3 separate regions of the Homo sapiens genome follow, and regions 1 and 2 are each linked to region 3. Evidence: promoter capture Hi-C in 16 types of primary human blood cells and fetal thymus (Javierre and others, 2016). All regions are on one chromosome and are shown on one strand. The core of a region is centred on a gene start or on the middle of the fragment in contact, and the rest is flanking DNA. Distances in the headings are between cores, read along the strand shown.

Evidence for each region. Contacts are between HindIII fragments. The CHiCAGO score rates a contact against its expected background, and 5 or more counts as called.
Region 1: a contact is called between a fragment that was not itself captured here and the fragment with the promoter of PLSCR5 in region 3, in 3 of 17 cell types (monocytes, total B cells and M2 macrophages). The highest score is 6.1, in monocytes.
Region 2: a contact is called between a fragment that was not itself captured here and the fragment with the promoter of PLSCR5 in region 3, in 1 of 17 cell types (monocytes). The highest score is 6.2, in monocytes.

What each region holds. Positions count from the first base shown.
Region 1 is chr3:146,077,879-146,082,698 of GRCh38, forward strand. It overlaps PLOD2 (procollagen-lysine,2-oxoglutarate 5-dioxygenase 2), which reads right to left. Exons shown (of 20, transcript NM_182943.3): 12 at 3,860-3,985; 13 at 1,238-1,379; 14 at 1-46. Among named protein-coding and RNA genes, the nearest start is that of LNCSRLR, 11 kb to the left of the region's middle. The HindIII fragment of the contact is 291 bases long and covers 2,709-2,999 here.
Region 2 is chr3:146,035,670-146,039,968 of GRCh38, forward strand. No RefSeq gene overlaps it. Among named protein-coding and RNA genes, the nearest start is that of LNCSRLR, 31 kb to the right of the region's middle. The HindIII fragment of the contact is 550 bases long and covers 2,526-3,075 here.
Region 3 is chr3:146,603,901-146,608,307 of GRCh38, forward strand. PLSCR5 (phospholipid scramblase family member 5) reads right to left here and starts at 1,446. Exons shown (of 8, transcript NM_001085420.2): 1 at 1,300-1,446. The coding sequence starts at 1,312. The HindIII fragment of the contact is 8,012 bases long and covers 1-4,407 here.

The DNA of each region.
Region 1 (4,820 bases), core at 1,604-4,103, 520 kb before region 3:
TTTGGAATGTTTCCGGAGTAGGGGAGTCTTTTTCCCTTTGTAAAGTCTAAAATGAAGAGAAGCATTGGGTAAGTTGACCTGTACACCCGCTCTCTCAGGTATTCTTTGGTAAATAAAAATAATAGCAGCTGTTGATCAAAAGCTAACATTCTGAAATGTCCTTCATAGACAACATGCAGAACAAGCAAAGCTTATAGCACACACAAAGAAACATCTCCAGCTCTTTCAGCCCTTCTTTTCTTTTCTTTTTGGGAGGTGTGGTGGGGTCAAACATAAGTCTAAGCTCATTCCTTAGCAGAACTTTCATTAGACACATAAGACAACGGAAAAAATGAGTAAGAGAGGCCATTCCATGATGCGCTGTTGAGTCAAATTAGCCAAACATGAGCACAAAATACTATCACAAGTACTGAGGATATTCAATAATAATGCACACAGGTTTGTAGAGAAAACAAACATATTCAAACAATACATGCTTTGTTAAACTAAGAAAAAAATACTTGCCAACTTTTCTGACTTTTCATCAAATCACAATTGCTTATATAAATTTGGAAATCGGAAATAAAATAGCCCCATCATTTCTAAAACCAAAAATCATATCAATATATTCTAAGCCATGTTTATGCATTTTGAAAAATTATTTTCTAGTCATTTTAAGTTTTATAATAAAAGTACATTTGTAGTGCAGCAAGGTATCATTAGTATTTTATTTAGAGTAAATACACTATGTATCTCAACACTTCTACTAGTTTGGTGGTAATAATCCTGCTTTCTAAGAATGTGAAGTTAATAATAATTTTAAAATTTTACCTAGTTAGAGAAAATGTGGACATTAATTTTAGAACAAAAATATTCTTAAATCTGGAAATATTGTTTCATCGAAGCTTATCTAATTAATTTTAATTAGGTCAAGTTTTCACTATAGAATTTCAAATTAAAGATGTATTCTTAAAAGAGCAAAGCTGATTTGTAACAAATACATCTTTATTACTGAAATCCAACTCGGTTGCCTATGAATTAGCCCGAGCACAAAAACTAACATTTTTCATACCATTTCTATAAGTAAATGTTAAATTATCTCCAAAATTACTCCCAAATTTTTTAACACAGAACCAAAAAAATTGGCTAGTACTTACAAATTAGCAAGACAAAGGGCATCAAAACACAGTGACACACCAACTGGTAAAGCAAGCCATCTTATAAGAACATTCAAGCAAGCCATCACTGCATATCTTACCATTTCTCTAGCATTTCGGCAAAGAGCCATATCAGGATCCAGTTTATCACGAACAAAATAGTTCCTTTCATTCATCTCTGATCGGAGTGTCTTTCCTTTAATTAAGTACACATTAGCCATATATGGGACATTCCATACTCCTCTGAAAGTAAAGAGAAGACATTCTTATATACCACAAATACAAACAATTTTAAGTTTCATTTTTACCTTTTTAAAATAAATGCTTTGTGTTTAGATTTTGTATACATAAATTATTGAATCAACATACAAATATATTCAATGATATATATATAAGATTACATTGTATACACTATATTTAATGAGATTTAGGAGATAAACCACTGCCCCTTTGGATACATTTCAATTTTGGGTTGGTATCTGTTTGGCATTTGTATTATAGCTATCATATCTCAATCAGTTGTTACAATTAGACTATTATAATCTATTGTATAGACGGTGTTTCTATTTAAAATTAAAGAATTTGATAGCATGAATCATAACATACAACCAGTGGTGCACTAGACCCAGCTCATACTGGCTCCCCAAAGTTAACTTTTTCTGCCAAGTCCATGTTCAGTAATTTCACATTGGAAACTTGAAATCAGCCATGGTAGAAGTATTTACACCAAACAAATGGGCAAGCACTTTAAATCAGGGAATCCTCCACCTCCAAAAGCCAGTTGTTACACATTTACCAAAATACCACTGAATATAGCCTAAAATTCTCCAAAATTATATTCTCTTACCATTCATTAAGCCATCTTAAATATTTTATAGAAAAAGGAAAACATGAAGAAATACAGCTGGGAGCACATGAACGTTGCATCCTTTCCCACATCTATATTCTCACTCTGAACATGACTGATTTCATAAAAACTGCAAAACAAGTTTTGCCCCTAAGACTGTGCGCCTTTCTTTTAGAGAACATCAAGGCAAGATCTTGACCAAGAAATGCAGTTAGATATTAACGGAAATATGATATTATGTCTTACTAGACTAGCCTCAAAGAAAAATGCCTTAAGGAGTACAGCAGTCCCCGCCTTATGTGAGGGTGATACATTCCATGACCCCAGTGGATGCTTGAAAGCAGATAGTAACAAACGCTACACATACACTACGTTTTTTCCTACACATATATACTTATAATAAAGTTTAATTTATACATAAAGTACAGTAAGACTAACAACAATAATAGAACAACTATAACAATATGCTGTAATAAAAGTTACATGAATGTTTACACTTTCTCTATCTCAACATATCTTCGTATTTTCAATCCACAGTAGACTTGAAACCATGGAAAGCAAAACCATAGATAAAGGGGAATTACTGTATACAACGTGTCAGCTAAATTCAGAAATTAATCTCTGGGGAATTATTCAGTGTTTCAACTTATACACACACACATACACACACACACACAGTTGCTCCTTCGTGTAGCTTTTGGACATGAAGTGTATTCCAGATCAAAAGCTTCTGCCATATTTTTTTCCTTATACTTTAGACAAGAATGACAGGAGGTTGGACAGAAAATCACCAATGCCTAAAGCAACTTGAAACAAATTTTCCATTCTACTTTCACAAACCCTCATTTGTGATGTGCCCAAAGATACAATCAGGTATATTGTCTATACAACTCACCCAGAGTCAATACAACTGCACAGAAACAACAGAATACGATCTTAATAGTCTTTTCTCCTCCACTGTGCATTTTAATTGCAGCTAACAAAAACCTTTATTGTATTTACATCATTCAGATTGAAGCTTTCCACACCAATTACTATTTCCACAAGCAACACATCTTTTTACCACTCAACTGTTTGAACAGAAACGTGTGCCTTTTTTTTTCTAAATGTAAGGGCACATCCTTTTAGTCCTGAGAGTATACTGCCCCTTTTTAATCAGGCTGACATGTTTGAGAACTAAGGCAAAGCATGTAATGTCTTAGTCACTCTGGTCCATCATATGTATGAAAAAAAGAATGACATTCTTCTCCAATATTACCTTAGCAAAACTATTTCAATTGTGATTATTTTTAGTAATCAACCATTGTCTCTGAAATAAATATAAATCATGCACACACTTTTCAGCAAATATATTCTTTTCAATCTCTAGAAGTGAAAATCTAATATTGGTAAAAAAAACTTGTATTTAAAGCAGAATAATAGCTATTTCACACAAAAAAACTCATGCAATCAGGAATACTGGAATGTTCTGGCTGTTAGTGTTACTGTTGGCTTAATTATAAATTTTAAAACCTATCAAAACAACCCTTAATTATAACCATTAAAAAGTTAGTAAACTAAATCCCCTTTCCAAGCTTTTAAATAAAGAGTATTACTCTTCTATCAACCATAATGTGAGTATGGTAAACATATATTATCTCTTAGTATTCCCCACAGCAATGAGCTTGTTCCTTTGAAGATTTGGGACTTTAAAAACATTTTTTTAAGATATTAGTTTTATACTAGTATTTCAGGATTCCAAGTGGTCTTGGGTTCTCAAATTCCCATTAACTATAAAGAAAAGAGATGAATGCAAAAAAAATTTCAAGTAATACTAACAAGACTACATCTTTAGATTATGGTATTTCACATTAAAATATTAAACCAAGTAACTTACACTCTATTCCCTTGAACAATATCCACATAATCTTCAGATCGTGCATAGTATCCATCAGGACTCAATGCTCCCCAGAAATTGGACCACAGCTTTCCATGACGAGTTACAAGAGGAGCAATGATCTTTCTAAAGACAGAGAGAGTGTGTGTGAGAGAGAGAAACCTATATAATTATTTATTTTTAAATTACCACAGAATTATGTATTTTGGGCTTAGTATGACATATAACACAAGAAAGCTCATTCAACAAACCTGTAGTTAATAAAAATAAAATAAGGATCTTCTTTCCCAACATCTTTTCTTAAGTAAGTATATTGCTAATTTTCAATCATATTTCTTAAAAAGAGTAACAAAGAAGGAAAAAGTAATTGAAAATGCTAATGAATACATAAAAATGACTTTTAAAAATGCCTTGCTTACATCCAACAGAGGGAAACTACTTTAGTTATTTAATTATATTTAAGTTTAACTAAAGTATTTCGGAACCTATATTAAATGAAACCAAATATTTTCATTGTCACTGGGTGAACAACAGCCCCTGGTGCATTTAAGATATTCAATGAATATTTGTTGAATTTGTAAAAAATGAATGAAGATGAACTGAGATGTTTGTAAACAGGCAAAGCTTTCCTGTAATTAAGTCTCAAATTACTTAAGTATGTTTCCAGTTTTCCATGACTTTAAAAAATGACTTGTGATTACAGTAAGCTAGTCCTGGCAACACTGAACTTTCCTTTAACTATTTTAGAAAGCAAATTTATGGAACAACTATTCTTTATATGAAAAAAGAAAACCTATTTCACCTCTATCTTGTGAAGACCAGCCGGGCCCTTTCTATTACATGCACAAAAGTGAAATAAATAAACACACATCGGGCCCGGCGCAGTGGCTCATGCCTGTAATCCCAGCACTTTGGGAAGCCGAGGCGGGCGGATCACAAGGTCAGGAGTTTGAGACCAGCC
Region 2 (4,299 bases), core at 1,551-4,050, 570 kb before region 3:
GATAATAAATGACTGTTACTGGCTTGTGTATTTACTATACTATATTTTATCATTATTTTAGAGTGTACTCCTTTTACTTAGTAAAAGAAATTAACTGTAAAACAGCCTCAGGCAGGTCCTTCAGAAGATATTCCAGAAGAAGTCATTGTTATCATACGAGAGGACAGACCCATGCATGTTATCGACCCTGAAGACCTTCCAGTGGGACAAGATGTGGAAGTGGAAGACAGTGATATTCATGATTATGACCCTGTGTAGGCCTAAACTAATGTGTGTGTTTGTGTCTTAGTTTAGTTTTTAATAAAAATTCAAAAAGTAAAATTTAAGTTAATTAATTAAAAAAAACAGCTTATAGATTAAGGATATAAAGAAAGAAAATGTTTTTGCACAGCTGTACAATGTGTTTGAGTTTTAAGCTATGTGTGATTACAAAAGTGTCCAAAGATTTTTAAAAATTAAAAGTTTATGAGGTAAAAACGTTAGAGTAACCTAAGTTTAATTTATTATTGGAGAAAAAACTTTTAAATTTAGTGTAGCCTATGTGCACAGTGTTTACAAAGTCTACAACAGTGTACAATAATGTTTTGGCCTTCACATTCACTTACCACTCACTGGCTCACCCAAATCAACTTCTAGTACTATAAACTTCATTCATGGGAGGTACCCTATGCAAGTGTACCTTTTTTATCTTTTATACCATATTTTTACTGTATCTCTTCTATGTTTAGATATGCAAATACTTACCACTGTAATACATTTCCCCATAGTATTCAGTACAGTAATATGCTGAACAGGTTTGCAGCCTAGACGTAATAGGCCACACCACATAGTCTGAGTGTGTAGTAGGATATACCATCTAGGTTTATGTATGATGTCCACACAAAAATGAGTCACTCAACAAGACATTTCTAAGAAGGTATCACTGTCATTGAGACACCTGACTGTACTGTAAATATGGCTTAAAAGGTATTTTGTAGTAAAGAGATCCCTCAAAACACCTTCAATCATACAGAGGAAAAGGAAGTTTTAACAAAGTATTTGAAAAGTAGTTATGTAATCATATTAAAAAAAAAGTTTTAAGACAGTATTTGAAAATAGTTATGTAAAATAAGTTTGCAGCTTCTTCAGTGTCAAAGCTCACTTATAATCACCCAACACCATATAAGTCTATTTTATACCCTAAAATTGGCTTCATGAATTTCTAGAGAAATCTCACACAATCATGATTATTGTGTGAATCATTACTAATATAAACTATAAATATTGAAATTATGTCTGCTTTCATACCAAAGATGTTTACTATTTACATACAAGAGGGAGTTGGAAAATATTTGTTAATACTGGAAAAGAATTGGTGATCCCTGGAAGCCCAGAGGCCTAGTTTCCTCTCGGGGGCTGATGTGATTATTGTCATCAGCAGTCTCCTCCAAAGGCTAAGAGGTTTTGGTAAAGGCAATAATGAGCTATGCATACATGGAAAATTCTTTCATGTGCTTTCAACCAACAGAATTTAATTAAATATGGTTCATATGTTTTGTATTTTTAAGCCAAATCTTCATAGTTGTATAATGTTACTGACAGCATCAGCAGACAAGACACAAAAGTTTTGGGAACAGGAAGTGTAGTAATTATAATTGAAATTGAGAAATAAAAAGAAAGGTCAAAGTAACAAGAAAATGGGGTTGAATTATTTTTCTCTACTAGTGTTATTTCTTGAAGATTCTGCTTTTCAATAATCAAATTCACTTCTAGAAGTATTATTACCATAGAAGAAATAATACATTACTGTATTTCAAAATGCAGAATATCTTATACCTCTCTAGAGAAGTCCTTTTTTTTTCTTTTTTTTTTTTTTTTTTTTGAGACAACAGTCCTGCTCTGTTGCCCAGGCTGTAGTGCAGTGGCACAATCTCAGCTCACCACAACTTCTGCCTTCCAGGTTCAAGCCATTCTTCTGCCTCAGCCTCCCAAGTAGCTGGGATTACAGGTTCGCACCACCATGCCTGGCTAATTTTTGTATTTTTAGTAGAGATGGGGTTTCACCATGTTGGTTAGGCTGGTGTCGAACTCCTGACCTCAAGTGATCTGCCTGCCTCGGCCTCCCAAATTGTTGGGATTACAGGTGTGAGCCATCGTGCCCGGCTAGTCCTTTCCTTTTGCTTGCATTCCTGTAAGAGAGCCTAAGCCTCAGCCTGTGTAGGAGCACAGAACTTTTTAAGATGACTCATATACATGAGGCCCTCCCCTCAGCTGTTCCATCATTGAGAAACTTGTTTCTCCATCCTACATTTTCTCAGCTTCTGTTATTAACCCTGATCCCATGGAGATGGAGACAGCTTCATTTCATTTCAGGCTCTAAAAGTCTTCCTGAGCTAGGGGGTCTCATCTAAGCCCGTGGCAGTAAATACCACATTTACACTAACAATTCCTACATCTATCTCTTTTTAGGTATAACCTCTCTGCTGACCTTAAGCCTCACACATCTAACTGCCTCTAAGGCACCTCAAATTCACCATACCCAGATAAGCTTATCATCTTCCCCTGAACACAAACATGCTTTTATCACAGTAGTAGAACTACTATGCACCCAGTTTCCCAAGACAGAAACCTAGTAAGTGTTGGCTCATCTCTCTCCCTCTCCATCTTCTCTCTATATTCAATCAATCATGCATTTCAGTTTTATTCAGCAATCTCATTTGCCTAAAATTTACCAGATTTTCTTCATACTCAAATTGGAGGACACCATACGTTTCCTGGATTATTGTCATATCTTCTTAACTGAGATAGCTTCGCCATTTTCAACCCTACACAATGAATTTGTTTCTTAGGGAGACTGATCCTTAGAAAATGTAATGCTGACCGCACTCATCTGGTAAAGCACTTCAATAACTCCCCATTGCTCTTAAGGTGAAGTCTAAGCCCTACATGGTTTTCCCAGTTTAAGTGTTTCTACTGAGCCTTCAGCTTCGGCTTCCCATGGACTACTTCCTCATTTCACTCCATTTGTTCCCTTCTCCCAACCTTAATTGTCTAATTTATTCATCAGAACTCAGCTTAGATATCACTTCCCTTGAAAGCTTTCTTCGACATTTCCTAAGTGCTTCACTGGCATAAAGTATTTTCCCTATCTTGGCACTTATAGCACTATAATGCAATTACATGTTTCTTTATTCAACAAAGATTTATTGAGTGTCTATTATATATGCCAAGTGTTGTTTTAGATGCTGGAAGTATGGTAGCGAACAAAACAGACAAGTTGTCACTCTCATGGGTTTATATTTCAACAAACACTATTGAATTAAGAAAGAAATACATGTTGGAGAGTAAGTGTCATGAAGTATGGAGAGGATAATGTGATAGAGTGTGACTGGGGCAAGAAGAAATCTTTAGTTCAAAGTGATGAGGGAAGGCTTCTCTGATAAGCCAACAGGGGAGCTGAGACACGAAAGTGAGAAAACAAGTCCTGTGAGTTTCTGAGGAAGAGGATTCCAAGCAGTAGAATACACACAAACACACTAAGATGGAAATGATCTTGGCATAATCCCGGACATGGAAAAGACAAGCAAGAGAAAGACTGATAGAATGAGGGCAAAGTGGTGAAGTGAGTGGCACAGTGGCACAATCATGGGGGACATGGACGCTCTGATGTAGACTTGGGGTTTAATTCTGCCTGGAATAGAAGCCATGGAGAGATGTGAATAGAGCTGTGATATGAACCAACTTAGAAGGATCACTCTGTCTGCTGTGTGGATAAAAGACTATAAGAAATAAGGTGGAGAAAGAGACCATTTAGAAGACTGTAGCAGTCAATAGTTCTGGCAAGAGATGATAGTGCCTGGGACTACTGTGCATATTAGATACTGTAGGAACTAGATGTTTTTGGAACATACTTTAAAAGTAAAGTGCAGATGAATTGAATATAGGATATGAGAGAAAGAAAGTAGTCAAGGATCATACCATATATTTTTGTCTGAGCAAGTAGTAAACTACAGTGATCATTATAGTATCCTCCTTTATCCACAGGTGATATGTTCCAAGACCCCCCAGTGAATATCTGAAAATGAATACTACCAGAATCTATACTATGTTTTCTCCTGTACATATATACGTATGATAAAGTTTAATTTATAAATTAGGTAAAGTAAGATATTAATAACAATAATAATAAGAGAACAAGTATAATAATATAGTGTAATGAAAGTTATATTAATGTGCTATCTCCCTGTCTCTCAACATATCTTATTTTGCTGTACTAACCCTTATGATGATGATGTGAAATGATACAATGCCTATGTATGT
Region 3 (4,407 bases), core at 196-2,695:
CACATCTATGTTTTACAATTTGTGTGAGCTTTCTCAGTGATTCTGAGGGACTGAGGGACTGGTCTACATTAAAGATTGATAAAAAATGGAAAGATTATCTCATTTGTTTCATATTAAATAGTGACCAAAAGTGTGTTTTGATAAAGGAAGCAAGTAAGCATACACATTTGTTTGAATGGATCACTAATTTAGGATATTACAAATTGATGAGCCCTATTATCCTATTTGTAATTAATTTAAAAGGTTTTCACCAATTATACTAATTATAATTCTTCATGCTAAAACTTTTCATTATAGCCTAGGCTTTAGTGGTTCATTCTGACAATGAAATGAAAGCACATTATAATTTTATTTCTTACACAGTTTCACAAGTGTTTTTAGTGAGATTGCAACTTACTTTAAAAACAACTACATCTCTTGTCTTTTTAGACCTTCTTTAAAGTAAGATAACGTAATGATATTTTTGCAGTTTTAGGAATTTGAGAAAAAACTCATCAGTCCTACTCCCCAAAAGTCTGCTAAGTGATCTGTGCGCTTAAAGCAGATATTTTCTGTTTGTTTTCTATCTTTAATTTACCATAAGGAAATTTCAAGATATTTTTGCTTTATAATTCAGAAATACTTATTTCTAGCCCATCACATTTAAGAATCAATAATAACGCATGTCAGATTCTTTATAATAAATGGCTATATCACATAATTTGAATAACAAATGGGAAAATAAAACTTAGAGAGTGTAACTGGATTGTCTGTAACTCAAAGGCTGAATGCTTGATGGGATGGATATCCCATTCCCCTTTATGTCCTTAATTCACATTGCCTGCTTGTATGAAGACATCTCATGTATCCCATAAGTATATATACCTACTATGTACCCACATAAATTTTTAATATTTTAATTAAAAAAATTATTAAATTGCACTTTAACACTTTCTAACTTATGTGTGAAAAGTTTTCTTCAAATCCTTTTAAACTTAAAATATCACCCTGTCCTTGTGTTTAACATTGAAGATTCCCATTCTAAACTTTGCTATGCAGCTTTTCTTATTAATTCACTATGTTTGTATTCATGATAACTAAAACATCGTTTACATCTGAACTTTTACAGTCTGTCAGATAAAGTGTTTTTACATGTAACTCAACATGCTCCTGGGAGTTAAGATTTTAAAATCACAATGTTCAAAAGTGACAAATGACAGCTTTTAAAGTACCAATCTAACTGGTTGTAACACATCCACAATTGTATATTTTTAGTCTTAATATAAGAAAAAGTTATTAGTTGGTTATATTTACTCTTACCTTTAGAGGCCATGAAGATGTCTGAGTCACTTCTTCAAAGGTTGCCAGGTTGGAAAACAAAGGCTTTTCTTGTTGCAGCAAGGAGAGAAAACGCAGCATGCACAAAACTTCAGAACGTGTTTGTCTGCCTCTTGTCAGCTTACATATAACAGAGGAAGGGAGTCCCTTGCTGTTTCTAGACTTCTGGACTTTATCAGTTTGGACAACAGAGTGAGATGAAACTGTCACAAAAGTAAACGCTGTTCAGAAACCATCATATAACTTTGGTGGCTGAAGGAACAATTTAAAAATAATAAAAACCAGAAAGGAAAGCACACAGCACTCATTTTAAGTGTCTTTTTTTTTTTTACCAAGTTGTTTTTGTATTTCTTAGAATATACACATTTGCATTCAGTCTTATATCAGAAATATCCTGTATTTCTCAATTTCTAGAAGTCTCCTTTCCAGATTCTGTGATAAAACATCCTATTGTATAAATTTTTGATAGTTCTAAATACAATTCTTTACATGTTGAAAATGTTTGAACATTATTATTGTTATTTTTCTATTGGATTTATCTCCATCTCTTCAACTCAAAATAAATAAGAAGAGGATATATTCCCTACTATTATATAAATAAATCTTTATTTTCATTTTTAATTGAATTTGATTAATCAGAGGCATTGGAATATACAAACCTTCAATAGCCTTGCAAAGCTAATCAAAATTTACAGATGATATTTAACTGCATTGAATTCTAAGGAAAGAAAACAAGTGCTGTAACCTTGACTGGACAGCTCCTATTTCTAAATGCAGCTACCCAGGTGACCATGGAGATTTTGCTCACCAAGTCAATTGCCCTACATGGTATGATTCACAAAGGTTGAACATGCAGGATATATTGCATTATCAGCAACACTGTCTTTTTCTGAAAATAGTTAAGAGGCTTCAGGAGGTATACCTTGTGATGAAAAATTATAAAGTCAACCTCACAGTTTGCAGACTGCCAAAAGTTTGAGTTTTCCTTATTTGACAAAGAGGAGTGGTTTTGTTGTTGTAGTTTTCTTAGTGTTTGGAGTTGAAAAAAGCTACCATTATTTAAGTTGTCGTTTTGCAGAAAAGATGTGTGAATATGATTAATATTTTTAAATTAAACTGTATGTTTCCTAAGTTTTTTCTAATGTTTGTCGTGAGCATTTAGAAAAACTTTAATACAAAAAATTAAGTTATTAACACTATCAAAGAAGATTAAAAAAATTTTTTTTATTATACTCTAAGTTCTACGGTACATGTGCACAACGTGCAGGTTTGTTACATATGTATACATCTGCCATGTTGGTGTGCTGCACCCATTAACTCATCATTTACATTAGGTACATCTCCTAATGCTATCCCTCCCCTCTCCCCCCACCCCACAACAGGCCCCGGTGTGTGATGTTCCCCTTCCTGTGTCCATGTGTTCTCACTGTTCAATTCCCACCTGTGAGTGAGAACATGCGATGTTTGGTTTTCGGTCCTTGCGATAGTTTGCTGAGAATGATGGTTTCCAGCTTCATCCATATCCCTACAAAGGACATGTACTCATCATTTTTTATGGCTGCATAGTATTCCATGGTGCATATGTGCCACATTTTCTTAATCCAGTCTATCATTGTTGGACATTTGGGTTGGTTCCAAGTCTTTGTATTGTGAGTAGTGCGCAATAAACATACGTGTGCATGTGTCTTTGCTCAGCAAAAGGAACTACCATCAGAGTGAACAGGCAACCTACAGGATGGGAGAAAATTTTTGCAATCTACTCATCTGACAAAGGGCTAATGTCCAGAATCTACAAAGAACTCAAACAAATTTACAAGAAAAAAACAAGCAACCCCATCAAAAAGTGGGTGAAGGATATGAACAGACACTTCTCAAAAGAAGACATTTACGCAGCCAACAGACACATGAAAAAATGCTCATCATCACTGGTCATCAGAGAAATGCAAATTGAAACCACAATGAGATATCATCTCACACCAGTTAGAATGGTGATCATTAAAAAGTCAGGAAACAACAGGTGCTGGAGAGGATGTGGAGAAATAAGAACACTTTTACACTGTTGGTGGGACTGTAAACTAGTTCAACCATTGTGGAAGACAGTGTGGCAATTCCTCAGGGATCTAGAACTAGAAATACCATTTGACCCAGCCATCCCATTACTGGGTATATACCTAAAGGAATATAAATCATGCTGCTATCAAACAAGATGTTTTGAAATGTGGTCAGAATTCACCAGTTAATTTTGACTGCCCTACACAGCACAAATTTTGGAATAAAAATAAAAATCTTAGTGAATTAAACATATTTGTGAACTCTCCAAAGACAACCATATATGACTTGGGCATATGATGACATGGGCATATGACTGACTGATGGGATCTTTTAATATTTAATCTGCAGTGGAGGCTTTTCAGATCATCGAACCTGGTAATGCTACTGGTGAGGTATACTCAATGCATTTTTCTTCCCTTATGCACTCTCCCTGTCTTGCCAAAGACAATACCAATGTTTTTTTTCTTTTTAAAGGCTAAGTGTTTGCCAACCTGAGATCTCCCTTTTGTTCATTCCTTTCTTTTTCTCAGCTTTTCTCAAGGAGAGGCTCACAAAACTCTGTTTAATAGGACTCTCACATGTTTCAAGTGTCCTAACACTGTGTGTTCACGCAGCCAGGAGATGCTGCTCCACAAGCTGGCCTCTCTCCTGTTGCTATTGCTGCTGCCATTCAACTTCACCTTCATAGTACTCAGTGCTCTTCTCCTAACACCTGCTGCCTTCCTAGAAGAACGATGGTCATACCATCCTCTTGGCTCTGTGCCATGAAGCCCTTGACCTTTTCAAGAAGCATCAGTTTGACTTTGCCACCAGCCTGCAGTTTTTATGGCCCACTCACTTGATTCCAACCCAAGGTGGGCATGTCTAACACAGTACTGAAGACTTGAGATCACATCGAGGGCATTGCTGTAAGAAACAGGAAACTTGAACACGAATATCAGAAACCATAGGGTGAATGGGCTTTGCCTCTTCCCAGGAAACTCCCTATTGGTCATCGCTCTCTCCTGAGCCACTGGTTTGCTGCTCTGCTGCATGGGC